2 separate regions of the Homo sapiens genome follow, and region 2 is linked to region 1. Evidence: promoter capture Hi-C in 16 types of primary human blood cells and fetal thymus (Javierre and others, 2016). All regions are on one chromosome and are shown on one strand. Each heading gives the region's core, a stretch centred on a gene start or on the middle of the fragment in contact. The rest is flanking DNA. Distances are from core to core; before and after follow the strand shown.

Region 1 (5,762 bases), core at 2,120-4,619:
AACAATCTGCTTTTCCTAGCATTAAGAAATCAGAAAATTTTGAATTGTAAAGCATCTTTCAATCATGCACTTCTAGGAGCAACAGCAGGGATAAGGCTGGGTAACATGCCCAGAACCATATCAAGTTCAGAACCAGACCTGGGACTAAAGCAGTCAGCCCACCCTTTTCCCCAAACACTCATCAGAGGGGCCAGAATAGACACTTAAAAAATGTTCCTGGATTATGTTACTAAATTCAGGCATATCTAGAATTTTACACCAAGCAGCCCTATCTGCCCAGACCGGGCACCATCATCTACAGCAGATGGAAGTTATTGATCAGATATTTTTAACTAGGACAAGAAACATTCTCTCCAGGACAATTCCAGAGTTAATCCCAGGAGCCACAACTTTCCACCTCCAATTTTTTCTAAGACCATACCCTACAAATGAGGTGGATGTGTCTTATAGCCACTTCCCTTGAATCAAATTCTTCCACCTGATTTAAGTTTGCTAATCATTCTTGATCTCCTCAAGAAGCTTTAAAAATAGAGCCCTGATAAGGTACTGTACTACTTAATCCTGTTCGATATTTTACTTGTACTGTTCAACAACTCACCCACTGCCTTCAGGATAAAGTGCAGACTCGTACACACAGCAGGCAGGACCCATCAAACCTGCCCTGCTCATCTTTCCAGCCCCATGCAAATTTATCCATCTGTTGATGGTCTGGTCAGAATCGCCTTCTTGCCACCCTACAAACAAATGCAATTCCACAACAATCCAGGCCTGCATAGCTATGGCTTTACTTTAGTCACAGGATCAGGAATGTCCTTTGTCCCTTACCCAACTGGTCAACTTCCAGACTCAATTCACATAATGCCTCCCCCTCCTGATGGAAATTAGTCCCATCCTCTTCTGTGTTCTCCTCTCACCCTAAATCCTCTTCTATCAGAGTGTGAGTCCCCTGTGACAGGCCTGAATTTCCTGATAGCAACTCTCTTAAGCAATGGTCGATGGTATTGCACAAGAAGTGTCATGGCTTCCAAATTTCTGCCCAAAAAGGCAGAACTCCACCAAAATGGTCTCAACGCTCCAAAGCTTTCAGCAGGAGAGTACTGAGCATATGGCTGAAGGTGCTCAAGTGAAAGAGACAGAGAGCTACCGCAATGCCCAGCTGATGCTGGGGAGAAACAAACCCATCCTAGAAATCAAAGGCTACCATTTAAGCAAATACCTAAGTCAAGCCTAGGGCTTAGTAACCAAAACCTTAATGCAAAAAAAAAGATACTCCACCGTAAGCTATCAAGGAGCCACACAACAAGATCCAGACTGGGCCAGAGCTACATTCCCTTGGCCACGAGGCTTAGAGTTAGCATGAGTTGCTTAATGAGAAGGAACTGGAGTGTATTAAAATCCACAGTATACCCTTCCGAGTTGTTTATAATCTTTTAGACGTCTTCATAAAATCCTCACTTAAACCTTTCATGAAATATCAAACATAAATAAACAAACTGTAGGATTTAGGCACCCACAGTGGTGAAAAACTAACAAGTAACTCTAAAAACAAACTTAAAACTGCACTTATCAAACCACAGAATGGGTAATTCTTTATATTCTGATCCTCAAGAACCAGAACCAAGAGAGTCACCTGGCTTCCCATTACTAGTCTGGAACACTGCAGAGCTAGACTGTCACATGAATGAATGAATGAATGACAACATTCCTACTGCAGAAGCAAGTAAGCCCTATGGTCAGTCCAAATATTTCTCATATGAGAAAAAAGGCCCATAACAGGTAAAAGAGCTGCTAAAAGTCACCTAACTAGTGAATGACAGAACCAGAACTAGCGCTCTGGTCTTTTCATTTAGTCCAGCCTCTTTCTCCATTCCAGCAGGATCACTTTACTCCCATATTCAAAGGAAACAACCTTTAAACCACAGGAATAGAGCTTCTTGAGCTGTTAGGGTAAATTTAATAAGCAAGCAGCTGAGCAGACTGAGAAAACATGGTTACCAGATGGCCACTGGTCAAAGAAACCATGAATGAATGCATCAGTGTCACTTGGAAGTCTTAATTTAAAACAGTATGTCCTTTACTCCGAAGCGTCAGCACCCTTTACCCCAATGTAGCACGTGCTTTAAAGTAAACACTTTCTGGCATAAATTGGGAAAGTAAACAGAAAAACATTAAAACTGTATCACACAAATACATACTTATTCTGATTATATTTTAAGTAATCTGAGAAATGTAGCTATTAGTAAGAGAATCACGGCCACAACATGTGGATGCAATCCAGTTCCTAAGTCGTCAAATTCACGTTTACACAAAAAAGGTGTCTGCCCAGAATTCCGCCTACTGGATCTCAACAGTTACCTTGAGTTCATCTGCAGCTTAGGCAAATGGTGGTCAACTCCGCCACTAGACAAAACTTACTCATTCTGAAAAAGGTCAACCCCTCTCCCTTCTAAGACCTCCTCTCACCCTCTCTCAACTCCTTTTCTTGTTTAAGAAAACATGGATCAGCACGGCCACACTATGGGGTCACTGCTCCGCCTTCCCCATTTCTGTCCGGGTCTCTGGCATCCCCAGGGCCCAGTGCGCCTCATCCGACCTGGGACAGGGTAGGCGCTCAACACACCTTTTAAAATCGAACGAATATGCTTCAACTCTAAGGACTTTAAAGTGTAAGTTTTAAAAGTTTGTTTTCGTTTTTAAATGTGACATCACACACACACACACACACACACACACACAAACACACACACACACCCCAGCGGACACTTTCTCCTACCACCATATTTAAGCAAGAGGCTTCGCCAGTCAAAAAAGCAGTGACACCGTCTGTCTTCCCACTCCCTGAAGACACCCATTCTACCCGGGCGTCTGCCCTTGACCCCATTGATTCTAGGAAGCGGCCGGGCGGCGCTGCCCACAGGCTCCGCCGCCAGCACTAGCAGAGTGACCGCCCGCGGGACCCCAGCGCTGCAGAGGAGCCCCGCGCCCCCGGCCCAATTCTCCCAAACAAAGGCCGAGGGGGAGGGGAGGGACGCGGGGGTCGAAGGCCTACAGGAAGAGGAGCTGCGGGTGCCACGGGTCAGGCAGGCTGGGCACCTTTGCCCGGGAGCCCTCTGGGCGGAGGCAGAGATACTTACGGCGGTCTCGTCGCGGTACACGTCGGGGTACTGAAGGGACAGCATGGCCGGGGACAGGCAGGGGGCAGCGTGGAGGGGCGCGGGCTCCGGGAGCGGACCTGAGCTAGCCGGGCTGGCCGCGAGGCGCGGCTGGGGCGCAGGCAGCTGCGGGGCGGCCGGCGGCAGCGGGCGGCCGGCTCACGGCCAGAGCTAGCACAAACGGACTGGCGGCGCGGCGGCGAGGACGTGCAGAAAGCAGGAAGCCGCTGTCTGCGAGGCCGGGAGCCCCTCCCCGGCGGGCGGGCCCAGCGGCGGCGGCGGCGGCAAGAGGGAGCGGGCGGCACCGAGCGTGCGCTAAGGCCGGCGCACAGCTCCCTCTGCAGGATCGCCGGCCGCGCCCGCGCCGCCCGGGCGCACGGAGGAGCACGCCGGCTACGCGCTCGCCCACGCCCGGCCGCCCGCCCGTCCTCTGCGCCGGGGACAAGTCCTTCCACCGAGGCCGGGTCCCCGCGCCTTCCCTAGCGCCCTGCCTCTCTTTGGCCGCGCTCGCAGGACCGCCTGTAGGAGAGTGAAGCCCCAGGGTTTCCTTGCTGATGGAGTCCCCCACCTTCCCCAGCCTTCCTGTTCCCGGGCTGGTTACGGCGGCGAAGGGAGACCTTGCCTCTCCCCAGCCTTGGAAGCAGAGGGCTGGAGGTGGCCTTATGTCCACTGCCTGCGACTCTGGACTTGAAGGGAAGAAGTAATCGATCATGATGACCGTGAAAGAAACACGTCTCCCTTCATCCCAGGACCCCTGGTGGACACTGGGTGGTTTAGCATCCGGACTATGGAGATGCTTTGGAGGTGTTGGCAGGACTACGGTTGAGCCCTTATTTGATATTTACCGATTGAGAAAGAACCAAGATTAAGAGGCCTGGAACTCATCAGGGGTATTTTATTTATCCTGCCTTTTCCTCATTTCCTCTCCTGCTGTCATGCTTGTTTATTGAGCACCTACTGTTTATGGGAAGAAAAGATAATAGACAAGATACTTGACCTCAAACCCATGAAAATTTAATAGTTACATGTCATCATCCTCGGGCCAGCAGCGGTATGTGTTCTGGTCTTGCTTCCTGGACCACCCAGAAGAGACTTTATAGCCCCAGCCATCAGGGGTATAGTGTGTGCCCAGTGTGTTTTCTATCCCTGGCTTCCAAAAAGTCCTGGAAGAAAGAATAGGTGTGACCAGAAAGTCCTTCACCTCCGGAATCTAAGTGGATATGGTAACTATTATAAACTTGTGTCCTCCGTCTCTTTTGTGATATGGTCCCAATTCCATGCCTCACCCTTAGTTCACCATTTCTGTTCATAGTGATGTGTCATAATCATTTTCTGCATCTGATCCCAGATACCCCCTCCTGGGGCAATCTGAGAATCCTCAATTCTGGGAGAACTCACGCTATTGATAACAAACTTTGTGCAAACACGGGGGCATAGCCCACTACAGCCCAGAAGTCCCAATTCCAGTTCCCACCTCGTGCCTTCCCTGGCTGTCACCTGACGCAGGGACTGGCAGGCATTGTCTCCTCCTTCTGCCACTGTGAGGGATTTTTTAAAGAGCAACCCAGGAGCACTTGACCCAGCAGACCCCCTAATGATAATATTAATGCTTATGGAGTGTTTTTTTCAGTGTATCAGGAAACTATCTAGAACTAATGTCCCTATTTTATAGTTAAGGAAAACGGGCTGACTTTTGCCCAGGACTTCACAAAAAGTGAAAAAGTAGAGCCAGGATTCCAACCTAGGTCTCTCCAATACCAATGCTCATTCTTAACCACTCTGACGGCCTTCCTACTCATAAATAAGTAGAGATACTCTAGAGTCTACAGGGCACCCATTTGCAGGGAAAACTTCAATTTAGCAGGACCTAAAGAAAATGTGGGAATTGTGGTACCCAAAGGACAAATCAAACCTAGGTATCATCCTCTCTTCCCTTTCAGTCAGCCGTTCTGGTGCCCAGTTCCTCTGGGCCCTGAGAGGTAAAGGTTTGTAGTGGCACAGACAGTGCAAGAGGCTCCCAGCAGTAGGTTGTCTGCATCTGGAGTGAGATGGAGTGGGAGGGAAGATGGGAGAGCACCCTTTCCCCTCCTATTGACCACGTTAGTTGCACTTTTGTTTGCCAATGTGTTGTCTCCTTTAATCCTTATAGCAAAGACCATTTTACAGATGAGGAAAAAGAATCTCAGCAGCTTTAAGGGAATGAGTTCAAAGTCATCACACAGCTAAGACAATACAAGATTCATATTCATAAGTTGACTGCAAAGTCAACTTTTTCCATAGACAATGCAGAGAAAGGAAGTATTTGAACTATCTCAGAATGGAAGTGCCACCTCCAGAATAAATACCAGAGCACTCTTTGACCTCTGACACTGTAGACTGTTTTCAGGGGAATTGTAGAATTTACACTGTGATAACTCATGCTCTAATTCAGAACCCTAGGCCTTTGGGAGAATGAGGGTGAGCAGAGACATAGAAGGACTTCCAGGGCAGCCTTCAGCCTCTCCTCTGACCTCAAACTTTGTGCCCCACTCAGTTAAGAAGAGTCACCCTCTGAAGAAGGCAGGCTAGTGATCATTTACTGCTGCTTGGCTGTCTCTACCCCACCTCAAG
Region 2 (6,292 bases), core at 882-3,381, 790 kb after region 1:
TTTCTTTTTCTAACTGCTTCATGTCTGAAAAAAATTTATCTTGTCAACTAATTCACTTTATTAACATAATCTAATCATATACAGCAAAGGAGAAAAAAATGTGAATATACCATTTTTTCTTTTCTTTTTCTTTTTCTTTTTTTTTTGAGATGGAGTTTCACTCTTGGTGCCCAGGCTAGACTGCAATGGCGCATTCCAGGTCACTGCAACCTCTGGCTCCTGGGTTCAACCAATTCTCCTGCCTCAGCCTCCCAAGTAGCTGGGATTACAGGCATGCACCACCACGCCTAGCTAATTTTGTACTTTTAGTAGAGACGGGGTTTCACCATGTTGGTCAGGCTGGTCTCTAACTCCTGACCTCAGGTGATCCACCCGCCTAGCTTACCACGTTGTTATACATTACATTAGAAGACTGGGAAATGAAGTATAATTGGGTAAAGCTTATAGGTGTTTTGTATTCTCCAAGGTAAAAATAAATGTTCTTGATGTGTTATTTTTAATGTACAAAGAAAAAAATATTTCACTCAGGTCTGGCACAGAAGCTTAGATCTCTGAGTCATTTTAACTACAGCTGAAACGACAAAAACAATTTACCTGAGCTCACCTTTGGTCATTTCCTGTTACCTCCAACTTGACTAATTCCCTTAGCCATTTACAAAAAAAGAAAGGAACACACAAAAGAGCTCATCATTAGTTACTCCACAAGCAGCAGCTCATCATTAGTTACTCCACAAGAACAATGACCTAAAGCACGTATTCATAAATACTAGTACATTTGACTTTCATATGATGAAATCAGACAAAATTCTTTCATCACTGAATCACTTGTAGGGAGTAGAAGACAATGGTGCCACATAACTTTTATGAAGTACTTTCTCTTTTCATCATGTGATGACAGCAAGTTCTTATCCATACACACCCAATCTTAAAGTCTTTCGCTTTCAACTTAAGTTGAATGCAGGTGTGTCAAAATGCTTCATGTTTGACACATCTGACAATACTACAGGTGAACTGAACCAGGCAGTAAACAGTTTTTTACTGAAACAGTGACTCGATGTTTTGGATACTCTACATAGATTTTTAAATGACAATTTTTTTTAATACGTAATAAAAAGAAGAAGCAAAGATAAAAGTTTTTTTCTAAAGAAAAGATACTGAGATGTGTTAGAGATGTGGCTTCCTCCTGGTATGAAAGATACCATCAAAAATACCTGAAAAGAATAGGCATTATCTATGTCATTTCAATGAAGTGTGTGTTCTGCAGTCAAGAGAAGCATTTGACAGTTTGCATGGGGAGAAGTCTGTCACACAGATGTACTCACCTACAGCACCTGAAATCACCTAAAAGGAAGGTTTGTGGATTAGGTTGTGTGGCTGCGCTGCCTCACTGCTCCCCTCTAAAAAAAAAAAAAAAAAAAAAAAACCACAAGGGAAGTCACACTGTGTATCCCCTAGAAAAGGATGTACACGTAGAGCAGCCTAGAAATTTAACAGAACAAAGAATCTCTTTTAAAAGAACAGCTTCACAAATTTGTGTGCCTTTCTTGTGTAGGGTCACGTTAATCTTGTCTTGTAACCTGGGTATAAGAGCAGAATAAAGGTGTATTCTGAGAGTGTCAGTTCAAAGCACTTGAATGCTTTTCATTTACGTGTCTGATGTTCATAATCACCATTTAAAAAATTCAACAAGAGTGGTCAGGATTATATATAGGAACACTAAAATAACAAAACAAACAAAATAAAAACAGTAGACACTCAGGTTCCTAAGATCATATCAGAAATATTATTAAGAGAGAAGAGCATGTAGGCAGATTAGATACTAAACACAAATTGAAGACTAAGATTTGTGAAAGTAAAATAAAGAGTAAGGAAAAAGCAAGTATTTCAGAATGTTATTTTAAACTAAACCAAAAAGTTAAAAAGAAAGAAAACAAAAACAAATGGCAGCATAGTAAAGTGGAAAAACCAAAAGACCACCAGGAGATGGAGACCTGTGTTCTAAACCTATTTCTGCAATTAAGTGGTTAAGAGACGTTTGGCACAATCATGCAAAAATTAAGAGAGTGAACTTTGGGAGGCCAAGGTGGGTGAATCACTTGAGGCCAGGAGTTCAAGACCAGCCTGGCCAACATGGTGAAACCCCGTCTCTACCAAATATACAAAAATTAGCCAGGCATGGTGGCACATGCCTGTAATCCCAGCTACTTGCGTGACCGAAGCACAAGATTGCTTGAACCTGGGAGGCAGGGGTTGCAGTGAGCTGAGATGGCATCACTGCACTCCAGCCTGAGCAACAGAGTGAGAATCAGTCTCAAAAAAAAAAAAAAGTAGATTGAAAGTTCTACAGTTATACAATTCTTTAAAGAAGTAAAATACAGTATTAACACCCAACTAATTTCTTCCCACTCTAGGCACTCCTTAACCACACCCACAAACTAGAAATTGGCAACCATGAAATAAAAATGAATTGAACAAATGAATCCATTAACAAAATAAACAATATAAAATTTCAAGTAAGCCCTCTTTCCTGGATTAAAAAGCAACTGTTAACTTTAGTTTTTACAGATAAAACACAAATGTATCAAGGGAGACCCCCCACTTATATAAACTTGGGACTAGCAAATATGGATCATTTTGTGTCTGTGACAATTGTGCTGCTGTTAGGGGACAGATCATTACAGAACACATTACTTCCAAAGTTTTGGGTTTCATTGCAGTGTTCTCATTCTATAGTCAAGGATGTTATAAAAAAGGAAGTTTAAAACAACATATTTTAAAAAGTAGATTGTCGAAAAAAATCTAGGAAAAGTGCAATAAGGTAGTCATTTGAGGCTGGGTGCAGTAGCTCATGCCTATAATCTCAGTACTTTGTGAAGCTAAAGTGGGAGTATCACTTGAGTGAGAAATGTAAGACCAGCCTGGGCAACACAGTGAGACCCTGCCTTTTGTTTTCAAAAAAGGTAGTTATTCAAATATTAAACTCTGGCTTAAATTTCATTTACTCCTAATTGATAAAATCATTTGTTATAGTGTGGTTGCTTGTCCCCGCCAAACCTCGTGTTGAAATTTTATCACCAAAGTTGGAAATGGGGCCTAATGGGAGGTATTTGGGTTGGGGTGGGGGGGGCGGGGGTGGATCCCTCATGAATAGATTCATGCCCTCCCTGGGTGTGGAGGAGTGAGTTCTCACTGTTTTAGTTCCCACAAGAGCTGGTTATTATAAAAAGCCTGGCACCACCCTGCTCTCTCTGGCTTCCTCTCTCACCATGTGACCACCGCACACACCAACTTCCCTTCAGCTTCCACCATGAGCAGAAGCAGCCTGAGGGTCTCATGAGATGCCCAATCTCCAGGCAGTAGAGCTGTGAGTTAAATAAACCTTTTTTCTTTATAAATTACCCAACCTCAGGTGTTTCTTTATAGCAACACAAACAGACTAACACAGCATCTAGTTTTTAATGTTCTTTAAAGTACTACTACAAAGTACTCAAAAAGGGAAAAAAACACAATACAGAGAAATGAGTAACTGAAAGCCAGTGCTGCCACGGACAGGTAAGAGGTTTATGGGGTTTATCTCTATCAGCAATAAAAACGATTAACCTCTTCATTACACTTCAAATGAAAATAACTCATCTATATTCCAAAATCCTCAAAAACAAAAATAGATATTAAATAGATCAAAAACAAACACCCTTATAACAGAGAAAATGAACTAAAAAAGTAAGCTTATTCTTGAATTTCTGGGAATTTCTCAGAAGTTATGAGTTACTAAGGCAAAATTTCTGTAGCCTGAGTTCAAAAATAAAAAGTTTACTTAACTATCTCTAAAGATATACAGGAAAATGGCAACACTGGTTGTCTCTAGAAAGGGGAACCAGGTTAGAGTTTGGTGAACAGGTAGTTAGGAAAGAGACTTTTTACTAAATTCCTTTATATATGCTTTGATTTTTAAAATATGTAAATGTATTGCCTATAAGAAAAAAAGTTTTAGTTATTTAACTGAACACAATCCATTAAAAAAAACTTGATAGACAGGAATTCACCAAAATTAAATGCTTTTATCCTTCAAAAGAAAATGAAGACAAGGCTGGGCATGGTAGCTCACACTTGTAATGCCAGCACTTTGGGAGGCTGAGGCGGATGAATCCCCTGTGGTCAGGAGTTTGAGACCAGTCTGGCCAACACAGTGAAACCCTGTCTCTACTAAAAACACAAATATTAGCCAGGCATGGTGGCAGGCACCTGTAATCCCAGCTACTAGGGAGGCTGAGTCACGAGAATCACTTGAACCCGGAGGTGGAGGTTGCAGTTAGCCAAGATTGCACCACTGCGCTCCAACCTGGGTGACAGAGCGAGACCCTGTCTGGGAAAAAAAAAAGAGAGAGAGTGAGAAAGAGAGAAAGAAAATGAAGGCAAGTCACAGACTAGGAGAAAATATCTGCAAATTGTGTATCTGATAAAGAACTTGTATCCAGAATATATAAATAATGCTAAAAACTGAGTAATAAGGAAACAATCCATGAAAAAAAACAAGGATTTGAATAGACACTTCATCAAAGAGATCTACAAATTATAATAAGCACATGAAAACATGTTCAATACCATTAGCCATTAGAAAAATGAGAATTAAAATCATCATGAGATACCACTAGGATGGCAATACATGTGACTGAGGATGTGGAGAAACTGGAATCCTTATACACCGCTGGTGAGACTGTAAAATGGTACAGCCACTTTGGGAAAGCTCAGTAGTTTCTTTTAAAATAAAAAATAAACTTACTATATGACCTTGTCATTCCACCCCTAGGAAGCTACCCAAGAAAAATGAAAACAAATGTCCACAGAAAGACCCATATTTGAATGTTCCTAGCAGCTCTGTTTATAAAGGTGAAAGGCTGGAAACAGTCCAAACACCCATCAGCTGGTACAGGGAGAACCAAAATGTGATGTATCTACCCAATGGAGTATTATTCACCAATCAAACTATGGACACTTGCTTCAATACGGATGCAACTCAAATACATAATGTTAAGTGGAAAAAAACAGTTGCACAAGACTATATGCTGTATGGTTCAATTTATGTGAAATATAATAGGCAAATTATAGAGACAGAAAACAGACCAGTGGTTGTTTATAGCTGGCAGTGGAGCAGAGATTAGCTACAAGTAAGTACAAGGAGATGGAAATGTTCTAAAAACCAAATTGTGGTGATGGTTGCACAACTCTATAAATTTACTAAAAAATCATTAAATTATAAAAAAATTATTTAACTAAAACTCTTATTGAAAGCTAAAATTACACAGTAGTAAAGATGGATTAGGAGTCTAAGATAGTATTATAATCAACTTAATGTTAATTGCTCCAAGATTTAATGATCGTAAATAATATGTTTCATGGTAATGATAGAAAGAATTCAGTAACTGGATTGTTTGGCAAACATTTACCCTAGCACTAGAGATACATGGATGTGTGTAAGACATCATCAGAAACCTTACTATAAAGGCTAGTAAAGTTCAAGGAAGACTTTATAAAATGTATTTATAACCTCTTAAATCCTGTTCAGTTTTAATAATTTGGGTAGTCAGTGGTCTCTTCCTTCAATCCTTTCTGGCATTGGTTCTGACAGTATTATTGTAGGTGCCCTTCCCCTTCCTAATGAACCTCTGTTCATTTTTAAAGCATTACATACATGTAGGAATGCTAGTATAAGCAAGCATACTTGACTAAGGAAAATTGCAATATTCTCAGGCTGAATGACACATATTTTGGGCTCCATATTCTTTGCTTAGTCATTTAGGCTGGAATACCACAACATTACCACCAAACCCACTGTTCCTAATTCTACTACTTAGGCAAACTATTTCCTTAGATGCAAAATGCTTCATGAACTGTGTGGTATATGTCATGCAAGTAATCCTGCATTCCTCCAATTCAGAATACATTCGTAAGAAACAAGCATTATCTGTTAAAGTATTACCTTCATATATACTAATGCATTACCTGTTTCCTTCATGGATTTAAAGTTTTTTAAAAAAAATTTCTATTATATAATAAATACAACTCTGCAATTTTTTTTTTTTTTTGAGACGGAGTCTCACTCTGTCACCAAGGCTGGAGTGCAGTGGCATGATCTTGGCTCACTGCAAGCTCCGCCTTGTGGGTTCACGTCATTCTCCTACCTCAGCCTCCCAAGTAGCTGGAACTACAGGCGCCCCGCCACCACGCCCAGCTGATTTTTTTTGTGTGTTTTTTAGTAGAGACAGGGTTTCACCATGTTAGCCAGGATGGTCTC

Evidence for each region. Contacts are between HindIII fragments. The CHiCAGO score rates a contact against its expected background, and 5 or more counts as called.
Region 2: a fragment that was not itself captured here is called in contact with the fragment with the promoter of PREP in region 1 in 2 of 17 cell types (naive CD8 T cells and naive B cells); the score reaches 6.8 in naive CD8 T cells.

What each region holds. Positions count from the first base shown.
Region 1 is chr6:105,399,713-105,405,474 of GRCh38, forward strand. It overlaps PREP (prolyl endopeptidase), which reads right to left and starts at 3,370. Exons shown (of 15, transcript NM_002726.5): 1 at 3,135-3,370. The coding sequence starts at 3,179. RefSeq lists a silencer at 3,078-3,647. The HindIII fragment of the contact is 7,847 bases long and covers 1,079-5,762 here.
Region 2 is chr6:106,194,410-106,200,701 of GRCh38, forward strand. All of the region lies in intron 7 of ATG5 (autophagy related 5), which reads right to left. Among named protein-coding and RNA genes, the nearest start is that of PRDM1, 110 kb to the left of the region's middle. The HindIII fragment of the contact is 3,183 bases long and covers 541-3,723 here.